Regions from separate parts of the Homo sapiens genome. Here all the other regions are linked to region 3. The links are contacts of gene promoters, found by promoter capture Hi-C in human tissues and cell types (Jung and others, 2019). All regions are on one chromosome and are shown on one strand. The core of a region is centred on a gene start or on the middle of the fragment in contact, and the rest is flanking DNA. Distances in the headings are between cores, read along the strand shown.

What was found. The method cuts DNA at HindIII sites, captures the fragments that hold promoters and counts their contacts. A contact is called where the count stands out against the background at its distance.
Region 1: a contact is called between a fragment that was not itself captured here and the fragment with the promoter of ADAM33 in region 3, in 1 of the 25 tissues and cell types used here (liver).
Region 2: a fragment that was not itself captured here is called in contact with the fragment with the promoter of ADAM33 in region 3 in 1 of the 25 tissues and cell types used here (spleen).

What each region holds. Positions count from the first base shown.
Region 1 is chr20:4,019,739-4,023,566 of GRCh38, forward strand. No RefSeq gene overlaps it. Among named protein-coding and RNA genes, the nearest start is that of RNF24, 6.1 kb to the left of the region's middle. The HindIII fragment of the contact is 4,326 bases long and covers 1-3,689 here.
Region 2 is chr20:4,182,565-4,186,758 of GRCh38, forward strand. It overlaps SMOX (spermine oxidase), which reads left to right. Exons shown (of 7, transcript NM_175839.3): 5 at 1-284; 6 at 930-1,090. Among named protein-coding and RNA genes, the nearest start is that of LINC01433, 8.4 kb to the right of the region's middle. The HindIII fragment of the contact is 6,680 bases long and covers 1-4,194 here.
Region 3 is chr20:3,679,642-3,683,457 of GRCh38, forward strand. It overlaps ADAM33 (ADAM metallopeptidase domain 33), which reads right to left and starts at 2,369. Exons shown (of 22, transcript NM_025220.5): 1 at 2,267-2,369. The coding sequence starts at 2,363. RefSeq lists an enhancer at 1,794-2,687. The HindIII fragment of the contact is 20,528 bases long and covers 297-3,816 here.

The DNA of each region.
Region 1 (3,828 bases), core at 277-2,776, 340 kb after region 3:
GATGGCACGATTTCAGAAAAACATCCCTCCCACTGGTCAATCCTTTGAAAGCTTAATTATTCAGAGTTCTAAATGACCCCTTTAAGGGTTGATCATATAATGCTTTGACCCGTTGGACTGTGCCAGTAGAGGAGGAGATGTTCTGTGTTCCCCGAGCCTCTTCATCCAAGAATTCCAAAGTGACTCCTCCTGCCTTGATCCCTCCCAATGGCCCTCTCCTCCTCATAGCCCATGGGGACCTCTTGCTGGGGCGTGACGCTGCCCACGGAGGGGTGGAATTGCTTCTTCTTTTTTTTTTTTTAGATGAAGTCTCTCTGTCGCCCAGGCTAGAGTGCAGTGGTGCAATCTTGGCTCACTGTAACCTCCGCCTCCTGGGTTCAAGTGATTCTCCTGCCTCAGCCTCCCGAGTAGTTGGGATTACAGGCACCTGCCACTGCGCCCAGCTAATTTTTGTATTTTTAGAAGAGACAGGGTTTCACCATCTTGGCCAGGCTGGTCTCGAACTCCTGACCTCAAGATCCACCCGCCTCGGCCTCCCAAAGTGCTGGAATTACAGGCATGAGCCACCGGAATTGCTTCTTAATGCAGAATGTGTGTGCAAGACTGTGAAACAGCAAGAGTTGGGGAGAAAGCGTAGGTTTCTGTGTGCATGGTACCTTTAGGACTGGCTGTGTGTCCACCCACAAGCCAGCGAAGGAGGTGGGAACCTGGGATTCTGTTTACCCAGCCACCAACAAGCCCCGTTGCCTTTCTGGCACACACAAGCCCAATCACCCAGAACTCCTGAAAATATAAATGTTCTCAAGATCTCATGTGGGAGCTTTTTAGCTGAGACCAGCCACACATGCAGGAGACTGGAAGCACTATTTCCCAGGGGTGGAACAACCTGCTCAGACTCACTTTTAGATTGGAGGATACCCATCTCAGCGTGGATTCTCCCAAGAACAGATCTTAAGACAAGGGCTTGGATGTAGGTAATTTACTTGGGAGGTGATTCCAGGAAATAAGAGTGAAGAAATGGGGAAAGCAAGCTGTGAAAGGGAGAGAAGCCAACAGTAAGGTATGCTGATGGGCCAGTTACTGCCATGGGCAACTGAGGCTCAGTCTGGCTTGGCGTCCACTGAGAAACCTTGTAGAACAGCCCTCAGCATTGTCTGCCTGGATGACCAGGAGGCCAGAGTATTTCTCCACTGACTTCAGTGTCTTGGTTGCTTTTCTTTTCTTTTTTTTTTTGAGACGGAGTTTCGCTCTTGTTGCCCAGGCAGGAGTGCAGTGGCATGATCTCAGCTCACTGCAACCTCCGCCTCCCGGGTTCAAGAGATTCTCCTGCCTCAGCCTCTCAGGTAGCTGGGATTACAGGCATGCGCCACCATGCCTGGCTAATTTTGTATTTTTTTAGTAGAGACGGGGTTTCTCCATGTTGGTCAGGCTGGTCTTGAACTCCCGACCTCACGTGATCCACCTGCCTTGGCCTCCCAAAGTGCTGGGATTACAGGCATGAGCCACCGCGCCTGGCCCTCTTTTCTTTTCTTTTCTTTTTTTGAGACAGAGTCTCACTCTTGTCACCCAGGCTGGAGTGCAGTGGCGCCATCTAGACTCATTGCAACCTCTGCCTCCTGGTTGTTCAAGTGATTCTTGTGCCTCAGCCTCCTGAATAGTTGGGATTACAGGCGTGTGCCACCATGCCCAGCTAAATTTTGTATTCTTAGTAGAGACAGGGTTTTGCCATGTTGGCCAGGCTGGTCTCAAAATCCTGGCCTTGAGTGATCTGCCCAGCTCAGCCTCCCAGAGGGTACTTTCAAGTTACATCTATGGAACAAAGCAAGCCGCTCTGCTAAGCTCCTCCAGTTATTGATTACACAACCCCCACAGCTGTGACCACCATTTGGCTACCACCATCATCACAGCTTCTGCCCCTCCAATTTCCCCCAGCCAATTATATCACTGCCTTTTCTCTCTGCTAGGTTCTGTTAGGCCTGAGCTTTAAAGAGAAAGGAATAAAGTGGAATGATATATCTTTGCCCATAACTCATTCTAGGAAAAAGGAACTATGCTGGTTTTCTTTTTCCTCCATTTCAACCTATCCAATCTACCCAAATAGTTCCCAATCATTATCACCTCATCCCAAAGCAACAGACGGGAAAGAGGAACAGGGCAAGAAAGCAGACAGGCTTTCTGGAGTGACTTTTATCCCCACAGAGTCATAGATGCAGAGTTGGAAGAGATGAATTCTCTCATTTGGGAGATAAGGACACCATGCAGATAAAGAGACTCTGTATCTTCTGCTTTTCCTGCTGCTGCAGTGCTTCCTCCAGGCAGGCTTCCTTAGTTTTTCTTGGCTTCCTACCCTTCCAACCTACGCCATCATAATCTGGACTCCAGCCCTTTATTCCCTCAAAGGCTGACTCAGGCCATGACTGAGGGAAGAAGCTTGGATTCTGTAGTGGAACAGCATTGTCCATGGGGAGACACGGCTTCCATCCCAGGCCTTTGGTTCCATTACTTAGTTTCTCACTTGCCTGTCTGTCATCCAAAGGGGCTCACAAGGAGGGGAATGCAGGGAGGAGACATCTCCCTAATACCATTGGAGTTTTTTTCCAGGTTAAGATGGTGCATTGAATCCACCCATCTACTTTTGCTCCTCCCAAAACTCACTAAAACTATTATAAAGGGATTTTGTTTAAAGACACAAACTCATGAGGACAGAGAGAACAGAGTAGACAATAGTGGGGGAAAAATAAGTTGGAAGATAGAAAACAGATGGGTGAGTGGTAATCGACTCAGCAGCCCCAAGAAAGCTGAAACCCAGGGAAAGTTAAGAGTAGCCCTATTTTCATGGCAAAATCCAAGGGGGGGTGGGGAAAGAAAGAAAAACAGAAAAAAAAATGGGAATTGGCAGTCCTAGATATCTCTGGTACTGGGCAAGCCAAAGAATCAGGATAACTGGGTGAAAGGTGATTGGGAAGCAGTTAAAATCTTAGTTCCCCTCTTCCACTCTCCGAGCAGCAGGTTTCTCTCTCTCATCAGGCAGAGGGCTGGAGATTTCACCTCCGGAGAGAGTAAAAAGGAGGATCTCTGGGCTGGGGCACCAGGCGTGGCTGAGGACAAAGGTGGCATGTGGAGAACAGGGGCGTTAAGTGACTATTTCCTCACTGCATGCTGAGAACCTCAGCTTTCTTCTCTGATCACTTCCCAAATCACTGGCAGCTACTCTCCACCTCTCTTCTCTGAGCACTCTGACCAGCCAAAAGGGAAAGAATGAAGGATACTGGCATTCAGATTTCCAGTAAACGACCATCCATGTCTCCCTACGGTGAATCACAGTTGACAAGCCCAGTTCCTGCACTCAGGGTTTTTCATAGTCCTTTACTCTTAATCAAGAGCAGAGAGCTAAAGATTATGTCTTAGGTTCCCTAGAAACAGAAGCTGTGATGCAGATTCAGATGCATGCGATTTATTGCGGGCGGGCCCTCAGAAGAAGCTCCTTTTTCCACCTCCAGAAAGAGCATGGAAAGGAACTGAGCAAGGATGTGGTCTTGGCTGGAGTCTAGCCTCAGTCTGACCCACAGGGAGCCCTGGAGCATGAATTGCACCACAGGGTTGATCTCACCTTGAAGCAAGAGGGCCAGCTTTTGTATCCATATATTGATCAATCACTGGCTGTGGGCTGCCAGGGAGGAAGCCATGAATTCCCAGGCAAGGTAGTTCCTACTTGAGGACAATTCTTTAGATAAAGTGGCAGCTCTGGTCTATTTATGACCGAGATTTATAGCAGCTGAAGGTATGGGCAGAACACCAATAACATCTACTGTAGATTACCAGATTACC
Region 2 (4,194 bases), core at 539-3,038, 500 kb after region 3:
TGGCACCACCGACAAGATCTTTCTGGAATTCGAGGAGCCCTTCTGGGGCCCTGAGTGCAACAGCCTACAGTTTGTGTGGGAGGACGAAGCAGAGAGCCACACCCTCACCTACCCACCTGAGCTCTGGTACCGCAAGATCTGCGGCTTTGATGTCCTCTACCCGCCTGAGCGCTACGGCCATGTGCTGAGCGGCTGGATCTGCGGGGAGGAGGCCCTCGTCATGGAGAAGTGTGATGACGAGGCAGTGGCCGAGATCTGCACGGAGATGCTGCGTCAGTTCACAGGTGCGCCACGTGCCCCACGACCCGCTTCCCCCACCCTGCTTCTTCCTCACCTGCCCTCCTCTGGTGGACCCATGGCAGCTCTCTCCTCCCCAGACCGTGAAGCTCGGATGCTGTGCCCCACGGGAGAGCCACTGCAGGGTGCCACATTCAGCCAAAGGCTCTTCAGTTGCTGACAGTTTAGAACTTGACACACTCAGAATTATGGGCGCTGTGTCTCTTCCCCCTTTCTAAAGGCTGATGGTAAAACACTCAGAGATCACCGCCCATTGTGCTCTGTTGCTAAGAGCTGGATTTGCCTTTTACTCTCTGAGTCTTTCAGCTCAACATTTTTCACCCACTATTCCAGGAGGACCTCACGAGAACCCCCGATATTAGGCGGGGAAACATGATTATGTGTCATGTGTTTTCAGATAGATAGGAAAAGTAAGGTGGAGCGTTTTGCCGGGGGTCACAGGAGGCGCTGAGTGGGTACACAGCTCGAGCCCCAGCCTCCCTCCTTCCTCTTCTATCCTCCGTGCCTACCCCTGGCAGTCTGGTCCTCCCGGAGCCCTGGAGGTGGGGTGGGGGGTTGTCCCTTTGGGGTCATCTTCCATATGCAGCCATTTCTTATCCTCCCTCCTCTTGGCTTTTCTGACTCTCCATCAGGGAACCCCAACATTCCAAAACCTCGGCGAATCTTGCGCTCGGCCTGGGGCAGCAACCCTTACTTCCGCGGCTCCTATTCATACACGCAGGTGGGCTCCAGCGGGGCGGATGTGGAGAAGCTGGCCAAGCCCCTGCCGTACACAGAGAGCTCAAAGACAGCGGTAAGCGGGGCGTTTGGGGTGAGGAGGGGAGTTGTGGGTGTATTTTGTATGTGTGTCCGGTCCAGGGTGAGGAGGGCTAGGGTAGTGTTCACTAAGGGGTGCTCAGGTGAGGCAGGGATGGAGTAGCTTCTGTAATGAGAGAGAACACAAGGAAAAAAGTGTGCACTTAATATCTGGAAGAAAAAATGGAATCAAATTGAAACTTAAAATGTTTTCTTGATGTTATGAAAACTGAGCTATTCCATGCTGTGCTGGCCAATACGGTAGCTATCAGCCACTTTCAATTTAAATTAATTTATTAAAAATTTAAATTAATACAGTATTTTTTTTTTCTTTTTTGAGACAGGGTCTTGCTCTGTCTACACTTCAGGCTGGGGTATAGTGGTGTGATCACAGCTCACTGCAGCCTTGACCTCCTGGGCTCAAGTGATCCTCCCACCTCAGCCTCCCAACTAGCTGGGACCACAGGCATGCCGGCACGCCACCATGTCCAGCTAATTTTTGTACTTTTTTTTTTTTTTTGGTAGAGATGGGGTTTCATCATACTGCTAGGCTGGTCTTGAACTCTTGGGCTCAAGCTGTCCTCCCGCCTCAACCTCCTGAAGTGCTAGGATTATAGGAATGAGCCACCACACTTGGCCAATACAGTAAAGTTTTTGTTCCTTGGTTGCACTAGTCACATTTCAAGTTCAACAGCCACATGTGGCTAGAGGTTACCATAGTAAAGTACATAGCGATAGGAATGTCCTATTGGACAGCACTGATTCAATGGAAATGTTTTCCCAATATATTTCAGAAAATAAAGTTTAGATTACTGATGCTCCACAATATGCCAACTGTACACTAAAAAAAAAAAATCTGAAATATATATTTATGCTCCCATAAAGTGGATTTTGAGTTTCCCCCATCAAGTAGACACACACAGTAAATGTTAAAACTCAACAGTTATATTTAAAACAATTATTTGGTATAATTGGTGAAGAAGAGTTCAGTCAACCAGCATCTACTATGCCTGCCCAACGGTGCTCAGATGGAGAGAGAAAAGGGCTGGTGTTTAAAGAGAGAGAGGTCCTCAGAAAGGCCCTTTCTGCTGCCACAGCCATCCTCCTAAAAAGCAAATCTTCTCTTTTCACTTGCATCAGTTAGGACTAGTGCATGTAGCAAAAAGCAAAGCAAAGCAAACACAACTGTGACTTAAACAAGGAAAATCAAAAGGAAATCTGGAGGCAGGCAGCAGGATCCCGTATCATTAGCACCTGGCTCTCATCTTCAAGACCATCTTGTGGTCCAAGAGGGCTGCAGAAGCTCCAGTTCTCACATCTGCATCTTAGGCTAGAAGGAAGAGGAAAGGCAGATGGCAAGAAGGGAACCCTTGGAGCTGAGTCAGCTGTGTCTCTAAGCAACAGTGCACTTTAATGCTTATTGGCCAGAACATAGACACATGACTGCACCTAGCTGCTACAGAGGCTGGGCAGTATCATTTTTATTCTGGATGGCAATGGACCCAGTTAAAAATCAGGACTTTGTTATTGAGGAGAAAGAGGAGAATGGTTGGATGTGGGAGTGGTCCCAGCTACTTGGGAGGCTGAGGTGGGAGGATCACTTGAGCCCAGGAGGTCAAGGCTGACACAGTATACAACACCCCTTTCAGTGTAACAGCCTCTGTGGGCTCCTTGGTGGTGGGATTACAGCCTCACTACTCAGGGTAGGTAGATCAGTACCAGCCTCACCTGGGAGCTAGTTAGAAATGCAGATTCTCAGCCTGGCCAACATGGCGAAACCCTGTCTCTACTAAAAATACAAAATTAGCCAGGCATGGTGGTGCACACCTGTAGTTCTAGCTACTTGGGAGGCTGAGGCATGAGAATTGCTTGAAGCTGGGAGGCGGAGGTTGCAGTGAGTTGAGATCATGCCATTGCACTCCAGCCTGGGTGACAGAGCGAGACCCTGTCTCAAAACAAAAACCAAAAAACAACAACCCCTGGCGCCCTAAACACACACACACACAAATAAATAAATAAATAAAAAGAAATGCAGATTCTCAGCCTGGCCAACATGGCGAAACCCTGTCTCTACTAAAAATACAAAATTAGCCAGGCATGGTGGTGCACACCTGTAGTTCTAGCTACTTGGGAGGCTGAGGCATGAGAATTGCTTGAAGCTGGGAGGCGGAGGTTGCAGTGAGTTGAGATCATGCCATTGCACTCCAGCCTGGGTGACAGAGCGAGACCCTGTCTCAAAACAAAAACCAAAAAACAACAACCCCTGGCGCCCTAAACACACACACACACAAATAAATAAATAAATAAAAAGAAATGCAGACTCTCAGCCCACCCCAGACCTGCTGGATTAAAAACTGCATTCTGGCCAGGGATGCAGGCTCCTGCCCATAATCCCAGCACTATGGGAGGCCGAAGTGGGAGGATGGCTTGAGCTCAGGAGTTCAAGACCAGCCTGGGCAACAAAGTAAGACCTCCATCTCAACAAAAAATTTAAAAAAAAATTAGCCAGGTGTGGTGGTGTGTGCCTGTAGTCCCAACTACTTAGGAGGCTTAGATGGGAGGATTGCTTGAGCCCAGGAAGTTGAGGCTGCAGTGGAGCTGTGATCATGTTACTGCACTCCAACTGGGGCAATAGAGTGAGACACTGTCTCAAAAATAATAAATAAAAACTGCATTTTATCAGGATCCACAGCTGGTGCCTTGCACCTTGAATTTGAGAGGAACTAGGATAAAGTCCAAATGCAAACTTGGGGTGCAAGAACTTGTACCTTGCCTAGACCTCACCTAGACAGCCTGCTTTCTCAAGGCCGAGCCCTGGCTGTACCAAAATTCTCACTGTCCCCCGAGCAAGGCCTGCTTTGGTACATTTTTGCCCCCACCTTTCCCTCTGTCTGAAATGTCCTTTGCCTGTCCGTTCACTCAGCATCTTCCGAGAACCAGTTCAAAGGTCCTGTCCTCTGGGAAGCTTTGTGGGATCCCCTGACACTGGGCCTCTTTTCTGGGCTTTCGGCGCCTTGTGCAAACACCCATTCCATCACATATGACGCTGTTTAGTAATTGGGTTTCATGTCTGGCTTCCTCACCAGCATGGAAGCTCCACAA
Region 3 (3,816 bases), core at 1,119-3,618:
GGGGGGTAGAGGACATCCCCAGGGAGGCACTGGAGGCCTTTTGGGGCAGACTTCACCTTCAACACGCGTGGGCTCAGCCTGGAGAAGGAGGGACGCCCGTGGGCATCCTTGGATCTGAGGAGCTATCAAGGAGGAGGAAAAGAGAAGGCTGGAAAGGGACAGCTCAGCTGGGGACACGGGAGTCCCCTGACCTTTGTCGGGGGGCAGGCTTGGGCTCGGCGATCACAAGGAAGAGGCCAAGGCCGCCAGTGCAGAGGGGAAGGAAAGAGCGCGGCAGCCTTAGGGATTTTTAGATGGGCAGCAGATGCCTTTAGGGTGAGAGATGTACGAAGAGAGGACACTTGTGCCCCCCCCATCATCTGAGAAAAACAACAGCCAGATGTTGCCTTGCGAGGTCCACCTTGCCCAGAGCTCCCTCGGGGACTCTGTCCTGGTGGCAGGGTTTTGGTACCCTGGCCCAGAAGGCCCCTCCTCATCTCTTCAAGGGGAGGGGACGCTTCTGGACGGAGCCTTGGTGCTCCCTGGCCGGGTGTGCCTAAGGGGGCTCTAGGAGGAATCCCAGAGCCAAGCATTACTCAGAGGGCGCCTGGAATGTTCCCCTGGAATGCTCCCAGCCCTCCACTGGCCCCAACCACTCTCACAGGCCCGCCCTGCAGGAGCCAGGCCCCAGGCACCCAGAGCCTGCAGCAGCCCTCCTTCCCCCGGTACCCAGTCCCAGCTCCCAGAACAGACAGCCTCCCCCCTCCACGCAGCCCTGGCCTCAGTCCTGCTGGGCTGATGGCTGCCTGTGGAAGTGACTCAGCTCCTGCTAGGCCACCCCAACTCCTTTTTTCTCCTCCACCTTCTCTCCCAGACTACAAACATCAAAGACCCTTCCTCCAAGAAGCCCTCCTTGATTGGATGAGTGAATTGCCATCAGGCAGATGAGGGCCGAGAGGAGTCTGCCACCTTGGAAAGGAGGCTAGAGGGGCCAGTGCAGGGAGGGCTCTGAGTGGATGTGGGGGAGGGGAAGGAGGGGAGGTCTCTCAGCCCAGAGAGCACTTAACTGAGAGTAGAGAACCAAGCTTTGCTGCTCCTAGGCCTCTAAGGGTTTGGGGAAGAGGTAGGGTGGGCCCGGGCACAGGTGTGGTGTGGGTGCAGTGTGGTGTGTGGGTGCTGTCCACATGGCCTTGCGCGCACGTGCTGGCCACGGGCACCCTGACCCCAATGAGGGAGAGAGGGGCAGAGCTGGAGCTGGAGCTGGAGCTCCGGTGACCGGGTGAATGGGGGTGGAACCCGAGGGAGCCAGGCTGGTATTGGGCACATAGACGCCCCTCTCCCAGGGGTCCCATCACCTCCCCTGACCCCAGGATAGGGCTCAGAGGGGAGGGAGCAGTGGACCGCCTGGGGCCCTCCCCTGGGGCCAGAACAGACCAGGCCCCTGTACCTGTTTGGTCCCCACACAGTGCTGTGGAAGCCACCGCCCAGTCTGCATAGCACAGCCCAGCCCCGCATGCCCCCTCCCTGGTTGCCCTCCCTGTTCCCGGCCAGGCACTTGCTGTGCAGGACTGGCTAATCCTCCCACCCGCTTGCAGAGGTTGTTCCAGCCCCATCTTAACATCTTTGTTTGGAGGGGTTACCCCGAGGAGACAGCTGCAGTCTTCCCAGAGCACTGCTAAACAGACACCTTCTATCTGGAGAGGCCCTTCTCTATCTCACCAAACAAGGCAACAATATAAACAACATACACACTGCCCTGCTGCCCTGGGAGGAGGGACGAGGGGTGAGCAGGGTGGAGGCCACAGCTAGTTCTGCAGCCTGAGAGCAAAGCAGGGACTCTGGGGGACTCTTGGGCATGGGGGCTTCCTAGAGGACGGAGCCCCGCTGAGTCCTAAGGGGTGGAGGAGCAGGAGCGGGTCACACGGTGGCCTGCGGATGGAAGCTGGTTGTGAGAGCGAGAATCCAGGAAGAGGGGGCTACGGCTATGGGCTGGGGGCTGGGCTGCCCCCGAGGGGGAGGGAGCCATGCCCTCTGCTTTGCCAGCGGAGTGGCAGCCGGGCAGTGTGGGCAAGTCCGGGCCCGGGGCCAGCCCAAGCACACTTGAGCGTCCCTGGGCAGGTCCCACGGAGACCCCCCCAAAGAGTCCCCACGCCCTGACCTACTGGCCGTATGGTGCCGGGGCCGTGAGACCCTCCGCGCGCTGACCCGAGCTCTGAGCAGAACCCATCCCCGCCACCACCACCGCGCCTAGCCTGCCCCTCAGGGCGCACCCCGCCCGCGTCCTCACCTTGAAGCACCCCGGCGCCTGGCACTGGCCAGAGCAGCAGCAGTAGTAGCAGCAGCAGCAACGGGGTCCCCCGAGCTCTCCGGGGCCTCCAGCCCATAGCTGTGAGCTCCTCGGCCTCTAGGCAGCGGCTCGCAACTCCGGCTCCGCCCAGGCTGGATTGCGGCCGACCCGTGCCCGGTGCAGCCTCAGGCCGCCGCCTTCGGACCTTCCCGCCCCCACCTCCCACCGCCCGCCCTCGCTCCCGCCTCCCCTCCCCGCCAACCCCGCTCGGAGCCTGGCCAGGGGCCCCGACGGCGCGCGCCATGGGGGAGCCGGGTCGCCACTCCCGGACCGCCGCCCCTCGAGGGGGTGGAGCTGGGCGGAGGAGGGAATCCGTGCGGCCCCTCGGATGACCGGCCCGAGCCGTCCCTCCCCGTCGGTCTCAGAGGGCCTCTACTCCTGAGAGGAGGAGAGAACCGCTGGGAAGGTTCTTGGAGGACCGCGGCGTGGTGGGATGAGGCGGTGGGCAAAGGCCGCCTCTCGCTGCTGAAGTTGGCCCCAGGAGCGCGATCTTCCGTGGTCTCCTGGGGCCGATCTCTGTCCCCTCCTTGCTACCCGTCCTGCCCCGAGGGTGCCCTGGCGGAGGTTGAGTCGGGTCATCCACCTGCACTGGGTGCCCCCAAGGATAGGAAGGTTCAGGCAACCGGCTGCCGCTGTCTTGGGGGCTTCATTGCTGGGCAAAGGCGATGCAGCAGACGGAGACAACCTTTCTTCCCTGGCGGTGGCCAGAGGGCAGAATTGCATAAAAGCTGCAGACTCCCAGGCCTGGGAGACCCTTTCGGCCTCAGTAACATCTGTTTCATGTTTTAAACTTTTGTTTTCCTACTCGGTGCAAATTTGGATGAGATGTTAACTTTTTTTTTTTTTTTTTTTTTGAGATGGAGTCTCCCTCTGTCGCCAGGCTGGAGTGCAGCGGCGCGATCTTGGCTCACTGCAACCTCCGACTCCCTGGTTCAAGCGATTCTCCTGCCTCAGCCTCCCGAGTAGCTGGGACTACAGGCGCGCGCTACCACCCCCAGCTAACTTTTGTATTTTTAGCAGAGACGAGGTTTCACCATTTTGGCCAGGATGGTCTCAATCTCCTGATCTCGTGATCCACCCGCCTCGGCCTCTCAAAGCGCTGGGATTACAGGCATGAGCCACCGCGCCCGGCCGGAGATGTTAACTTTTAAGCAAATCTTTTTTTTTTTTTTTTTTTTTTGAGACAGAGTTTCTCTCTTGTTACCCAGACTGGAGTGCAATGGCATGATCTGGGCTCACTGCAACCTCTGCCTCCCAGATTCAAGTGATTCTTCTGCCTCAGCCTCCCGAGTAGCTGGGATTACAGGCATTCGCCACCACGCCTGGCTAATTTTGTATTTTTAGTAGAGATGGGGTTTCTCCATGTTGGTCAGGCTGGTCTCGAACTCCCGACCTCAGGTGATCTGCCCGCCTCGGCCTCCCAAAGCGCTGGAATTACAGGCGTGAGACACCGCACCCAGCCTACTTTTAAGTAAATCTATTTGTTTTTG